Regions from separate parts of the Homo sapiens genome. Here region 1 is linked to region 2. The links are contacts of gene promoters, found by promoter capture Hi-C in human tissues and cell types (Jung and others, 2019). All regions are on one chromosome and are shown on one strand. Each heading gives the region's core, a stretch centred on a gene start or on the middle of the fragment in contact. The rest is flanking DNA. Distances are from core to core; before and after follow the strand shown.

Region 1 (6,578 bases), core at 369-2,868, 870 kb before region 2:
TTCTTTGGTTTCATTTGGCTGGTTTCCGTTTGCTCTCCACATCCCCCTCCGTCTTCTCCACCCTGCTTGGAGCTGGTCCTATGGACACCTCAGTGGGCTCTTGGTCCTCCAGCTGCAGCTGAGTTTGGCAGTGGAGCTCTCCAGGAGGAGATGGCAGCAGAGGTGGAGGGTTTGTCTCCTTCTCCCTCCCTCAAGGCTCACCCCAGACTGGCTTATCCCTCAACCAGTGGTCACAGCCCCTATCAGTTGGGCCTGTCCACACAGCTCTGTCTTTGTTTTTTGTTTTTGAGACAGAGTTTCGCTCTTGTTGCCCAGGCTGGAGTGCAGTGGCGTGGTCTCAGCTCACTGCAACCTCCCAGTTCAAGCGATTCTCCTGCCTCAGCCTCCCAAGTAGCTGGGATTACAGATGCCTGCCACCATGCCTGATTTTTTGTATTTTTAGTAGAGACAGGGTTTCACCATGTTGACCAGGCTGGTCTGGAACTCCTAACCTCAGGTCATCCACCCGCCTCGGCCTCCCAAAGTGCTGGGATTACAGGCATGAGCCACCGCACCCAACCTGTCTTTATGTTTTATAACAGCTCCCTTCCTGACCCTTCAGGCCCAGGGGTGGCGACAGTGTCACTAGCCTGGAGAACTGTTTCCAGCACCTGCCGGTAGCCTTGCAGAGCACTAAAACTTAACTTCTCTCAAGCTCTCCTCAGCTTTCCCAGTTTGCCTGTGTCATCTGTTTCCCAGCAGACACTGACACATGTTTTCTACCCAGGCTGGTTACAGAGGATCAGTGGAAAGAGCATGGAATTGGGGGTCAAATAAAACCATAATTGAATTTGGGTTTTGTCGCCTGTGATGGTATGAGTCATTATTCTCTCCAAGCCTTCGTTTGTTCATCTCTAAAGTGGGGCGACTGGCCGGGCACAGTGGCTCATGCCTGTAATCCCAGCACTTTGGGAGGCTGAGGTGGGTGGATCACTTGAGGTCAGGAGTTCGAGACCAGCCTGGCCAACATGGTGAAACCCCATCTTGGTGAAACACAAAAATTAGCCAGGCGTGGTGGCGGGCACCTGTAGTCCCAGCTACTCGGGAGGCTAAGGCAGGAGAATCACTTGAACCTGGGAGGTAGAGGTTGCAGTGAGCTGAGATCGCGCCACTGCACTCCAGCCTGGGTGACAGAGCAAGACTCCATCTCAAAAATAAATAAATAAATAAAGTGGGGCGACCATCACCTTCCTTATAGAGTCGTGACAATGAAATCCCACGTGCAAGGGCTGTGCGCAGGCCTTGTGCTCAGTAGACAGTCTACACTCGGTTGTTCTGTTCTTCCTTCCCACACAACAGAACAAACATTTATCACACTGCATGCATCAAGCCCAGTGCAAGGTGCTGGGGATGAGGGAGAGACAAACAAGTGGAGGCCGCCATTTTTTGCCTACAGGGAGAGCTCAGTCTTGTTTTTGCCTGTTAGTTTGTATGTTTGTTTGTTTCTGAGACAGGGTCTTACTCTGTCACTCAGGCTGGAGTGCAGTGGCAAAATCATAGTTCACTGCAGCATCAACCTCTGACCTCAAGCAATCGTCTTGCCTCAGCCACTCAAGTAACTGGGACCACAGGTGCATGCCATGTCTGGCTATTTTTTTTTTTAATTTTTTGTAGAGGTGGGGTCTCACTGTGTTGCCCAGGCTGGTCTTGAATTTCTAGACAATTTTCCGATCCATCATCCCGCCTTGGCCTTCCAAAGTGCTGGGATTACATGCATGAGCCACCACCCCCAGCCCAGAGGTCAGAGTCTTGTAAAGAAAAGGCTATGGCTCCTCTGGGTGTGCCCCCTTCCGCCCCCACCATAGCCAAACCATTCGTTTCTGTTTGGCTGTGAGATGACATTTTTTCCAGGGTCTGGAGTTAGAGTAGTGACCAGGCAGTGCAAATAATTGTGGTAATCAGAAAAGCCTTCGAAGAGGAGGTTGAATTTATTTTTAGCCTTAAAGAAACTGGACTAAAAGGAAAGGCATTATCAGCCTCCTTGAGAACTGAACTCATTCTCCTCCCTCCTCTGTTGAGAGCTGCCAGACTCCCTAGATTGAGAATTGGACCTTCATTAGTTATGGTTACTCCTGGAAGGGTATCACATCCCCGGGGGCATGGTAGGGCTGGAAGGTACCTGGTATCTTGAGGAAGCTGCCTAAAAGGATTTCTCCAGGTGGCATGGGGCAGAAATCTAGGATAGTGATCAGGGCAGGCTGGCAGACGGGACACATGTGGAGGGGAGCAGCAGGAACGCCACACACTAGAGAACTGGGCTGAGACCATGTCGCTAAAACAAGGGATGCAAATTTGATTGTGTAGACACTGGCTTTGAGCAGGGGGAGCCCCTGCTTGAAACTGATGGCTAGGGGCTGCAGGTGCCTGCAATGGGCCAGGCATGAGGACCCAAGGGCCTGATTTGGGATGATGCAATGGGAAATGGAGGCAAAGGTCACACCCTCTTATCATTTCAGTCATAAAATATTTACTTGAGCACCCACCAGGACAGATGCTGATGTTGCAAGAATGAGATCAATAATATCAAGGAACATGTGTGGAGTACTTGAAACGGCCCAGGCAAGGTGTCCTTTCTCTGGGTAATCACGGTTAATCCTCCGAGTAGCTCCATGCAAATTACCAGTCCCTCGTGGAGAGAAAGAGAATGAGGTTTGAGTAGATTAAGAACATTGCCCCAAGGTGCAGAGTTCCTAGTGGAGCCAGGGTTCTAAGCTGGTCATTCCAAGTCTAGCACACAACCCCCAAACCCGATTCCACTCCCTCCCCGACAGTTCACCCTCCTTACCCACAAGGCACTTGAAGTGTTATGGGGCAGCGCCAGGAATTACTGCACAGCCTAAGGACCATCACAGAGACATGTGTGCAATGAAGTGTGCAAGTCATTACCTAGGCCTAAGAGATGCCCTCACCCAGGAGCTAGGTGTCGGGATTGGTTTGTTTGGTCATCTGACAAACACAGATGCTTCCTAACTTATAGAGTGGTTACATCCCAATAAACTCATCCTAAATTGAAAATATCCTAAGTGGAAAATGCATTAAATACACCTAAACCTACCAAACATCATAGCCTAGCCTAGCCTGCCTTAAACATGCACAAAACAATGACATTCGTTTACAGTTGGGCAAAATCATCTGGAAACACAGATGATGCCGTTGGCCAAGTTGGCAGACCTGAAGGAGAGGGTTGGGGTCACATGAGGATGAGGAGGTAGCTTTGGACAAATCAAGTTAAAGATCCCGTGTGGCAGCAGTCCCCAGCATTTTTGGCACCAGGGACCAGTTTCATGGAAGGCAGTTTTTCCAGGGACTGGGGGAGGCAATGGGGTTAGGGGGGTTCGGGATGATTCAAGCGCATTACATTTATTGTGCACTAGATTTCTATTATTATTACATTGTAATATATAATAAAATAATCATACAACTCACCATAAGGTACAATCAATGGGAACCCTGAGCTTGTTTTCCAGCAGCTGGATGGTCCCATCTGGGATTGATGGGAGACAGTGACAGATCATCAGGCATTAGATTCTCATAAGGAGCATGTAACCTACATCCCTCACATGCGCAGTTCACAATAGGGTGCGAGCTCCTATGAGAATCTAATGCTGCTGCTGATCTGACAGGAGGTGGAGCTCAGAGGGTAATGCAAGCAATGTGGAGCAGCTGTAAATACAGGTAAAGCTTTGCCTGTCCTGCTGTGTGGCCTGGCTCCTAACAGACCAAGGACCAGTATAGGGTTGGAGGGAAGCGGTTGGGGACCCCTACCGTGGGGCATCCAAGGGAGGCTCTTGTGGACATTTCTCCTTTGAAGTAATGAGTATACAGGTGGTAGCCTGTAAGTGGTGAATTTAGAGCTAGCAGAAGGGGAGCTTGTCAGAGAGGGGAGAGGAGAGCCAGAGAGACTGTGGCAGGGAAGGCAGAGGAAAAAGGCATGCTCCATTGTCATAGCTGCCACCCAGAGGTTCAGTGATAAGGGCTGAACAATGACAAATGGGTTTGACCTTCAAGGGGACAGCGCCAAATTAGGATGGAGCAGTACAGGCAGGGGCCCAGTTGAGTGGCCTGAGAATGGACGTGAAGTGAAAGGTAGAGACAGCAGAGAGGACTACTTTCTTTGTTTTAATAAAATAATAATTTTAAAAATTAAAATACTAATATGTTTTCATTATAGAAGATCAGAAAATATTTTAAAAGCACAAAAAAATAATAAACAAATGGTACCCCATGAGTCAATCAACCAAAGATTATGACTGGAAGCATTTTAGATTTTTTTTTTTTTTTTTTGAGACAGAGTCTCACTGCACATCACTCAGATGTGCAGTGGTGCCATCTCGGCTCACTGTAACCTCTGCCTCTCAGATTCAAGTGGTTTTCCTGCCTCAGCCTCCTGAGTAGCTGGGATGATTCAGGCACCCGCCACTACACCCAACTAATTTTTGTATTTTTAGTAGAGACGGGGTTTCACCATATTGGCCAGGCTGTTCTCAAACTCCTAAGCTTGTGATCTGCCCGCCTCAGCCTCCCAAAGTGCTGGGATTACAGGCACGAGCCACCGTGCCCAGCCTTAGATTTTTTTTAATCCATTTTTGTTTACAGAGGTACAATCGTATCAGTTATTCAAAATTTACCCAGTTTTGTGTCCTATTTTTTTCTCCACTACTTTCTTTCTTTCTTTTTTTTTTTTAGACGAGTATTGCTCTATCACCCAGGCTGGAGTGCAATAGCATAATCTCGGCTCACCGCAACCTCCACCTCCCGGGTTCAAGCGATTCTCCTGCCTCAGCCACCTGAGTAGCTGGGATTACAGGAGCTGCCACCACCCCTCAGCTAATTTTTGTATTTTTAGTAGACAGGGTTTCACCATGTTGGCCAGGCTGGTCTCAAACTCCTGACCTGAGGGGATCTGCCTGCCTCAACCTCCCAAAGTGCTGGGATTACAGGAGTGAGCCACCGTGCCCAGCCTCCTCCACTTCTTTCCTTCCTTTCTCTTTTTCTCTCTTTCTCTCTCTCTTTCTCTCTTTCTCCTTCCTTCCTTCCTTCCTCTTTCTGAGACAGAGTACAGTGGCGCAGTCATGTCTCACTGCAATCTTGACCTCCAGGATCAAGAGATCATTCAAGATCAGCCTGGGCAACATAGTGAGACCCTGTCTCTATTTAAATAAAAATAAAATAAAATAAGAGATCCTCCCACCACGGCCTCCCAAGTAGCTGGGACTACAGGCACCCACTACCACGTTCAGCTAATTGTCATATTTTTCGTAGAAATGGGGTTTCACAGCCGGGTGTGGTGGCCAAGACCAGCCTGGCCAACATGATGAAACCTGTTTTTATTAAAAATACAAAAAAATTAGCCGGGCGTGGTGGTGCATGCCTGTAGTCCCAGCTACTAGAGAGGCTGAGGCAGGAGAATTGCTTGAACCCAGGAGCCAGAGGTTGCAGTGAGCCAAGATTGTGTCACTGCACTCCAGCCTGGGCAACAGAGAGACTCCGCCTCAAAAAAAAAAAAAAAAAAAAAAGGAAAGAAAAGGAGAAAGAAAAAAGAAATGGGGTTTTGCTATGTTGGCCAGGTTGGTCTGGAACTCCTGACCTCAAGTGATCTGCCCCCTTGGCCTCCCAGAGTTACAGGCATGGCCACCACACCCAGCCTCCAGTTTATGGGAAAATATAAAATTTACCCAAAGTACTAGTTTGGATGCTCTTGGCTGCAGGTGTCAGAAAACCCAACTGAGGCCAGGCACAGTGGCTCAGCCTCTAATCCCAGCACTTTGGGAGGCCGAGGTGGGAGGATCATTTGACGTCAGGAGTTTGAGATCAGCCTGGCCAACATGGTGAGACCCCATCTCTACTAAAAATACAAAAAAAATTAGCCGAGCGTGGTGGTGCACACCTGTAATCCCAGCTACTCAGGAGGCTGGGGGAGGAGAATCGCTTGAACCTGGGAGGCGGAGGCTGCGGTGAGCCGAGATCGCGACATTGCACTCCAGCCTGGCGACAGAGCGAGATTACGTCTAAAAAAAAAAAAAAGAAAAGAAAACCCAACTGAAAGTGGCTTACATTATAAGCAACAAGAAGCCCAGAGCAGCGTGTAATTCCAGGATTGGTTAATTCAGGCAGTCGGTGAGGTCTCCATCACTTCTGCTCTGCCATCCTCGGGTGCTGGCATTTCCTCCTAAACAAACTGCTCCCCAACAGTCCAAGATGGCGTCTGTGGTTCCAGCATCCCAGGCAGGTGATGGCATCTTGAAGCAAGAAAATAGCCCTGTTACAGTCAAGTGCCACATGACAATGTTTTTTGTTTTTGTTTTGTTTTGTTTTTTTGAGACGGAATCTCACTCTGTCACCCAAGCTGGAGTGCAGTGGTGCAATCATGGCTCACTGCAACCTCCGCCTCCCGGATTCAAGCAATTCTCCTGCCTCAGCCTCCCAAGTAGCTGGGATTACAGGCACCCGCCACCATGCCTGGCTAATTTTTTTTATTTTTAGTAGAGATGGGGTTTCACCATATTGGCCAGGCTGGTCTCGAACTCCTGACCTTGTTA
Region 2 (6,413 bases), core at 458-2,957:
TGGCTGGGCACGGTGGCTCATGTCTGTAATCCCAGCACTTTGGAAGACCAAGGTGGGTGGACTGACACCAGGAGTTTGACACCAGCCTGGCCAACATGGTGAAACCCCGTCTTTACTAAAAATACAAAAATTAGCCAGGGGCGGTGGTGTGTGCCTGTAGTCCCAGCTACTGGGGAGGCTGAGGCACAAGAATCACTGGAACCCAGGAGGCGGAGGTTGCGGTGAGCCGAGATTGTGCCACTGCACTCCAGCCTGGGTGACAAAGTGAGACTGTCTCAAAAAAAAAAAAAAGAAAGAAAGAAAAGAAAGAAAAGACGATTCCCCTTTCTCTAGGGCCCAAACACTCTCATCCTATCCTCATTTCCAGGCTCACCGGGACACATGAGCTACATATTTCTTCTGGAGTCGGCGAATAGGGCTGGGGGCTGCCTTCTGGAGCAGTTCGACAGCAATGTCTGCAAGGGACAGAAGGAAGGCCGAGTGAGCAAACAAGCACCCACACCCAACACACCAGTCCCCACTGCTAGCAGAAGACCCAGATCTGTATTTTCTGAGGCCTTGGGGACAGGACCATAGTAACAAAATAGAGATCAAATTCTCACACACTGAGACAAAAAGCCCATTCCAAGTTCGAATTTCAGCTCATTCTAACAGGAAAGCTTATTGCCCTGTCACATCAAACTATCCAGATTTATCTGTCACTGCTGTTCATCTGTGGCATAAACATGCCTTGTTTACTTGGGGAACATATGATGGATATCCTTCGAAAATTAGCTTTTCAATATATAAATCAAGAGTGATTTGTATAGATATATGTGGCAGCAATGTTTTTTATTCATTTGGGCTAAAAGAATGGGAAATGCAAACTGCCCTCTTGAACCAAGTACCAACGAGCTAGCAATGAAGAGACAGTGTAGCCACGGGGCAAACCTCGAGCCATTTTCTGCCTGATGACAATCCCATTTTCATGCTTCTCACTTGTCCAGTCACACAACACTGCCTAACCTGCCACCGGGCTGGAGAGCTCCTCCAGGCTACAGTCGGCTTCCCAGTCCCAGCCATAGTAGAGCCTCCTTCGGATCCGGGCACTCAGCTTCTGGTGTCCTGGGAGGAACTGAAACAGGGCAGGGGCAGCGGAGGGTGAAGGGCACGGAAAGGTATGATGCAGATCCTGGCTCTGGGCTGGAAGGCGGGGCAGGGGACAGGCCGGCCTCGCTGCTAGGGGGCCCGTGCCTTACCCAGACCCGCGTTCTGTAAATCGCTTGCCAATGGCAGCCTGGTCCATAGAGGGAGGAATGCCCCCACCCCCATCGAGGGTTCCCCGGGAGAAGTTCTCCGAGAAGGGCCCTCGTGTGGCCACCCCTACGCCCATTCCTATACTCCGCGGCTCTCCCTCCCGGCCCAAGCAGCCGCGGCCTCAAGGAAGCACTGCTCGAGCAGCTGCCGCCCAGTCCCGGCACAGCAGTCAGGCGAGCTCGCAGCGCCGCTCAGGCCGGGAGGGGCGCGCCGGGAGGCCGGGGAGGGGGCGGGACCCCCACTCACCGTGAAGTCCTGGAAGCCGGCGAGGGAGAAGGTGCCTTCTTCGTCCAGCAGGAGCCCGGTCAGGTCCATCGCGCCGCCAGTCGCCGCCCTGCGAAGGTGAACGGAAGGAAACGAGTTGTAGGGGGCTCGCGGAGCTGTCCTTGCCCGCCTGTCCACCTGCCAGCCTGCCTCCCCGGGGCGGGCCGCCGTCCTCGCCCTCGCCCTCGCAGCTCCCTCCCCCCGGCGGCGGAAGGCGGGGCCCGGGCTGAACTGGGCGCCTCTTCCTGTTCCGCCCCGGGCTTGGCGCGGCGCGCGGGGGCCCTAGGCCCGGGAAGGGAGGTGTCAAGCGTCCGTGCGACGCTCACCTCGCGGAGCAGAAAGGAGATGCGGCTGCGAGGCGCGTACTCCGCCTGTGCCGCGTCCGCCCGGCGTTTACAAGCCGCGGGGGTGCCGCCTGCAAGTCAGCGCCTGGCACTTCCTGCCGCCCATCTGGCCCAGCCTCCCGCCCCGACCCGCGGGCAGGAACCGGACTCGAACTCCTGGTCTCACGGAACGTGGCCAAGCCCCAGGCGCCTCTGAGAAATGGGGACAATTCGTAGGGGGGACCACGCCGCACTGAGGATGAACAAGCCAGGCGTAGCAATGGAGAAGTTAATGTGAATAAGACGAAACGCACAACAGGAAGTTGTTCCCAGTTGCTTTTTAGGAGAGATATTATACATACTCAGCAATGCATATGAAAAGCGTCTGAAAGGACACACAGGAAATTTAGCAGTGGGTGAACTATGAAAAGGAAGAGAAACTCAGGGTGTTTTTTTTTTTTACTGTAATTTGAACTTTTAAACCTAAGGCTACTGAGGAAATTCTGTGATCTTAAGCGAATGTAAGGCCTCAAAACGTGTCAACACGTCCACCCAAAAGTAAACTGCATCTACCCAAGGTTTTGTGTTGAAACCCACCTCCCGCCTCCGATCTCATGCTTGAGTAGGCCGAGGTGGGAAGAAGCTCCGATATGTGGAAGTGGGAAAGTTTAAGGAGATAGGAAAGAAACAACTTTTCTGAGTAGATGTTGTTTTCGAGTCTGTCGAGTCAAGCGCTGGTGTGTGTTTGTTTACCCACTGAGGGGAGGGAACTGGGAGGACCAGTGCGTTGAGGGTTGGTTGAGTAATGGGACGGCCACCGCCCTTCCCGAGCGAGCAGAAGCAGACCCTACCGGGGATACTGGGAATCTGGAAGCCCACTTCCTGCCCCACACGGGGATACCGGGGCAGCACCACACTCCCTAGCCGCCCTGCCTACTGTGGGATAAGAAAACGGGCTCGACTGCCTGGACCTAGACCCGGACTCGGAACCCGGGGTACTTCGTCAACCAGAAAACGAACCTGTGTAGGCGCAGTGTCAGCGGCAGCCGCCGGGGCGCATGCGCGGCCCGCCCTATCCGGGGGGGGGGGGGTTAGGCCGCGTCACGTGACGGGCTCAGCGCTCCGCAGTCACGTGACGCTCGTCCGCAACCTCTGCTGTCCTCCGCGGCGCCCCCTTCCGCCTGACGCGCCCCCGGCGGCGGCCGCGCAGCCCTGGCTCCTCGCGGGCTCGGGCGGCGGCTGCGGCGGGGCTATGGCGAGCGGCGGTGGCGGGGGTAACACTGGCGCGGGTGGGGGGCCGGGGATGGGCCTGAGCCTGGGCCTGGGTCTGGGTCTGAGCCTAGGCATGAGTGAGGCCACCAGTGAGGCAGAGGAGGAGGCGGCCACGGCCGAGGCGGTGGGACGCCTGGCCACGACGCTGTGGCTGCGGCTCCGCGGCTGGGAGGCGGTGCTGGCGGCGGCGCAGCGGTTGCTGGTGTGGGAGAAGCCGCTGCACAGCCTGGTCACGGCGGCCGCGCTCAACGGCCTCTTCTGGTAACGGCCGCGGAGGAGGGGGCGGGGCCGGGATGAGCGGGGGAGGGAGGGGTCGAGAGCACCATTCCCCTTTCTGGGTTATCACTTGGCCTGGGGGCATGACCCATCCCCAGTTTTTGCAGGCTGACATCCGCTTGAATTGCCCATTTTTTTCTATCTCTGAGTCGTGAGTCGCGAGTTAGGCCTGGAGGTGCCATTACCCCATCAGTAGGCGCCTTTCCACCTTCTGAGATGGATGCATGAGCCTGTCTCACCCACTCACTGCTGAGGTGCCTGTCTCTCCCTAAGGTTGCTGTCTTCCTCGTCCCTCCGGCCCTTCTTCCTACTCAGCGTCTCACTTTTGGCCTATTTTCTGCTGGATCTCTGGCAGCCTCGCTTTCTCCCTGACGTTTCAGGTGAGTGTTTCTTCATTCAGTAAGCACCCATTGGGTACTTGCTTGGTGCCTGATTCCGCTGGGTGGGGTTAAGTGGCGAGGGGAACGTACAGCAGGCCACCTGCCTCCCAGGCATGGCCCACTTCCTTTTTGTACGGAATTCCCTAAAATGAGAATTGCCCCTTTCCCAAACTAATACTACTGTAGGTGCAGTGGTTAAGATGGTGAAGTCTGCAGCCATATTACCTGGGTTCCATTCTCTGTTCTGCCATTTACCATTGCTGTGACCTTGTAAAAGTAGCTCAATTTCTGTTTGTCTCAATTTCCTTATCTGTAAAACACAGATGATAGAACTTACTTCATAGAGAGGTGAGGAGAGGATTAATGAGTTAATACACATGCTATACTTATGATAGTGTTTCACATATAAGCCTTATAAATAGAACGTCAGTGTTGTTTTTCTTGTTATCCATATAATTTACTTAGTAGGTGACAGGCTGTATGTGAGTTGCTTGGGAGATAAGCATGAGTAAAATCTAGTTCTTATGTTGGAGAAGGGTAATGTCTAAAGGAGACAGACGCAAACAAAAACATGTAACAGCTCCCCCATTGGCATCTGAAGAAGGTGCTCTGGGGCTGCAGAGGAGGGACAACTATTTCTGCCTTGGGGAGTGTCTCCCAGGGCCCCTACCACTCAATAATTTGCCCCCCTCCTCTCTCTCTAGCATCATCCCCAGAGGAGCCACACTCTGACAGGTGAGTACAGGCCACCTCTTGAAGACAAATGCCCACATCCTGTCCTGCTTGCTGGTGCCAGTGTCACCATGGAGCAGGGCAGTGCCCCAGCATTGTGAATGAACTGGTAACAAGCCATGGGTTTTTCATGGTCCTAGGCTCCTGTGTAGGTGTTTGCGTGCCTGCTCCTTTTGGGGCAGAGGGTTGGGTCCTCCTGGCTTTGCTTCTAAGACCAGGACAGCCTCCTTTTGAGAGGTGGGGTCATTTGCTTTTTTAGACTAAAGATATCTTTGGCATTCTCAGAGGGATTTAAGTGTCTAGGAAGCTGGTATCTGAGGCCTCCAGGGGTCATGTCATGTCTCCCCAGTGAGGGTGCGGGGTCAGGCGCCCGGCCGCACCTGCTGAGTGTGCCCGAGTTGTGCAGATACCTGGCTGAGAGCTGGCTCACCTTCCAGATTCACCTGCAGGAGCTGCTGCAGTACAAGAGGCAGAATCCAGCTCAGGTAACCTCCCCTACATCATACAACAGTTCACTACACTGAAGGGGAATAGAGGTGGCGGGGGATGGGAGTGGAGTGATATAAACTCCCCGCTTGGAGACCCTGAAAGAAGAGGCCTGGGCGCCTTCTTGAGGCAACATTCACAGCTAATCCCTGGTGCAGGAGGCAGTCTCACCTCAGGAAATAAGCTTTTGATAGCCTGACACTTTCTCCTGCCAAGGCAGACCAGTGTGAATTACAGGTGGTGGGCATTATGTATTGCCAGCTTCCTGAATTGGTGGTCTTGAGCATCCTCTTAACCAAACTGGACCACCCCATTCCTTGAGTACATACCCATCCTTCTACCAGCTGAGCAGTAGTTTCTTACCCAGCCGAGCGGGGCGCATATCTCAGCGTGATGTTCTTAGACTTTTGCTCTTCTCTGCAGTTCTGCGTTCGAGTCTGCTCTGGCTGTGCTGTGTTGGCTGTGTTGGGACACTATGTTCCAGGGATTATGATTTCCTACATTGTCTGTGAGTAGGGTCTGTCCCTGCCCTATTTAAAGCCCTCTCCTTTCTTCTTTCCTTGGACTGACCCAGAGGGAAGACTATGCTCTCTCTGCTCAGTTTCTGATTTGTGGAGATCTCCAGGGATGCTTTAGTATTAGTAACTGTGGAAGACTTACCTGGGGAGGAGGGCAGTGGATGTGGCAAGAAGAGGTTGGCACAGCCTTGGGAAAGGACCTTGCCTACCTTCAGCACTTCAGTTTAGGGACCAGTTGAATGGGGGCTCTTAGGAAATTGGCGTAGGGAGCTCTTAGTTCACGTTCTTAACCCATAGTGTTGAGTATCCTGCTGTGGCCCCTGGTGGTTTATCATGAGCTGATCCAGAGGATGTACACTCGCCTGGAGCCCCTGCTCATGCAGCTGGACTACAGCATGAAGGCAGAAGCCAATGCCCTGCATCACAAACACGACAAGAGGAGTAAGGGGCTGCCCTAAGCCAGGAGGGTGAAAGAGCGGGAGGGCCTTGGCTTGGGGTTCATGAGATGCCCTGGAATTGAGATCTTCTCCAGTTCTTTAGCTGTGTTTGTCTCCCCTCCCATCATTCATGCTTGGTCATTGCTCTACTACTCTTGCTTTTCTAGAGCGTCAGGGGAAGAATGCACCCCCAGGAGGTGATGAGCCACTGGCAGAGACAGAGAGTGAAAGCGAGGCAGAGCTGGCTGGCTTCTCCCCAGTGGTGAGGTCCAGGGAAAGCGGGGGTGTCAAATAGAAAGCCAGAGGAAAAATCTTTCTGCTTTGGAGCTGCCACCTCCAAAGGAGGTGGAAGCCAGAGGTTTTGGGAGAGGGGATGCTCCTGATAAATTGGTTCTCTTATCCCCTCACATGTCGTGTTCATCCTGGTTC

Evidence for each region. The method cuts DNA at HindIII sites, captures the fragments that hold promoters and counts their contacts. A contact is called where the count stands out against the background at its distance.
Region 1: a contact is called between a fragment that was not itself captured here and the fragment with the promoter of CNPPD1 in region 2, in 1 of the 25 tissues and cell types used here (heart right ventricle).

Annotation. Positions count from the first base shown.
Region 1 is chr2:218,303,884-218,310,461 of GRCh38, forward strand. All of the region lies in intron 2 of PNKD (PNKD metallo-beta-lactamase domain containing), which reads left to right. It overlaps LOC105373881 (a long non-coding RNA gene), which reads right to left. Exons shown (of 3, transcript XR_923914.3): 2 at 6,094-6,278; 3 at 2,487-2,665. Among named protein-coding and RNA genes, the nearest start is that of TMBIM1, 15 kb to the left of the region's middle. The HindIII fragment of the contact is 5,019 bases long and covers 1-4,128 here.
Region 2 is chr2:219,175,218-219,181,630 of GRCh38, forward strand. CNPPD1 (cyclin Pas1/PHO80 domain containing 1) reads right to left here and starts at 1,708. Exons shown (of 8, transcript NM_015680.6): 1 at 1,543-1,708; 2 at 1,006-1,114; 3 at 374-455. The coding sequence starts at 1,611. It overlaps RETREG2 (reticulophagy regulator family member 2), which reads left to right and starts at 3,058. Exons shown (of 9, transcript NM_024293.6): 1 at 3,058-3,416; 2 at 3,705-3,811; 3 at 4,516-4,546; 4 at 4,893-5,028; 5 at 5,453-5,537; 6 at 5,845-5,988; 7 at 6,152-6,246. The coding sequence starts at 3,136. RefSeq lists silencers at 1,330-1,624, 1,463-1,522, 1,643-1,852, 1,923-1,972, 2,963-3,042 and 2 more and an enhancer at 2,753-3,253. The HindIII fragment of the contact is 7,594 bases long and covers 1-6,413 here.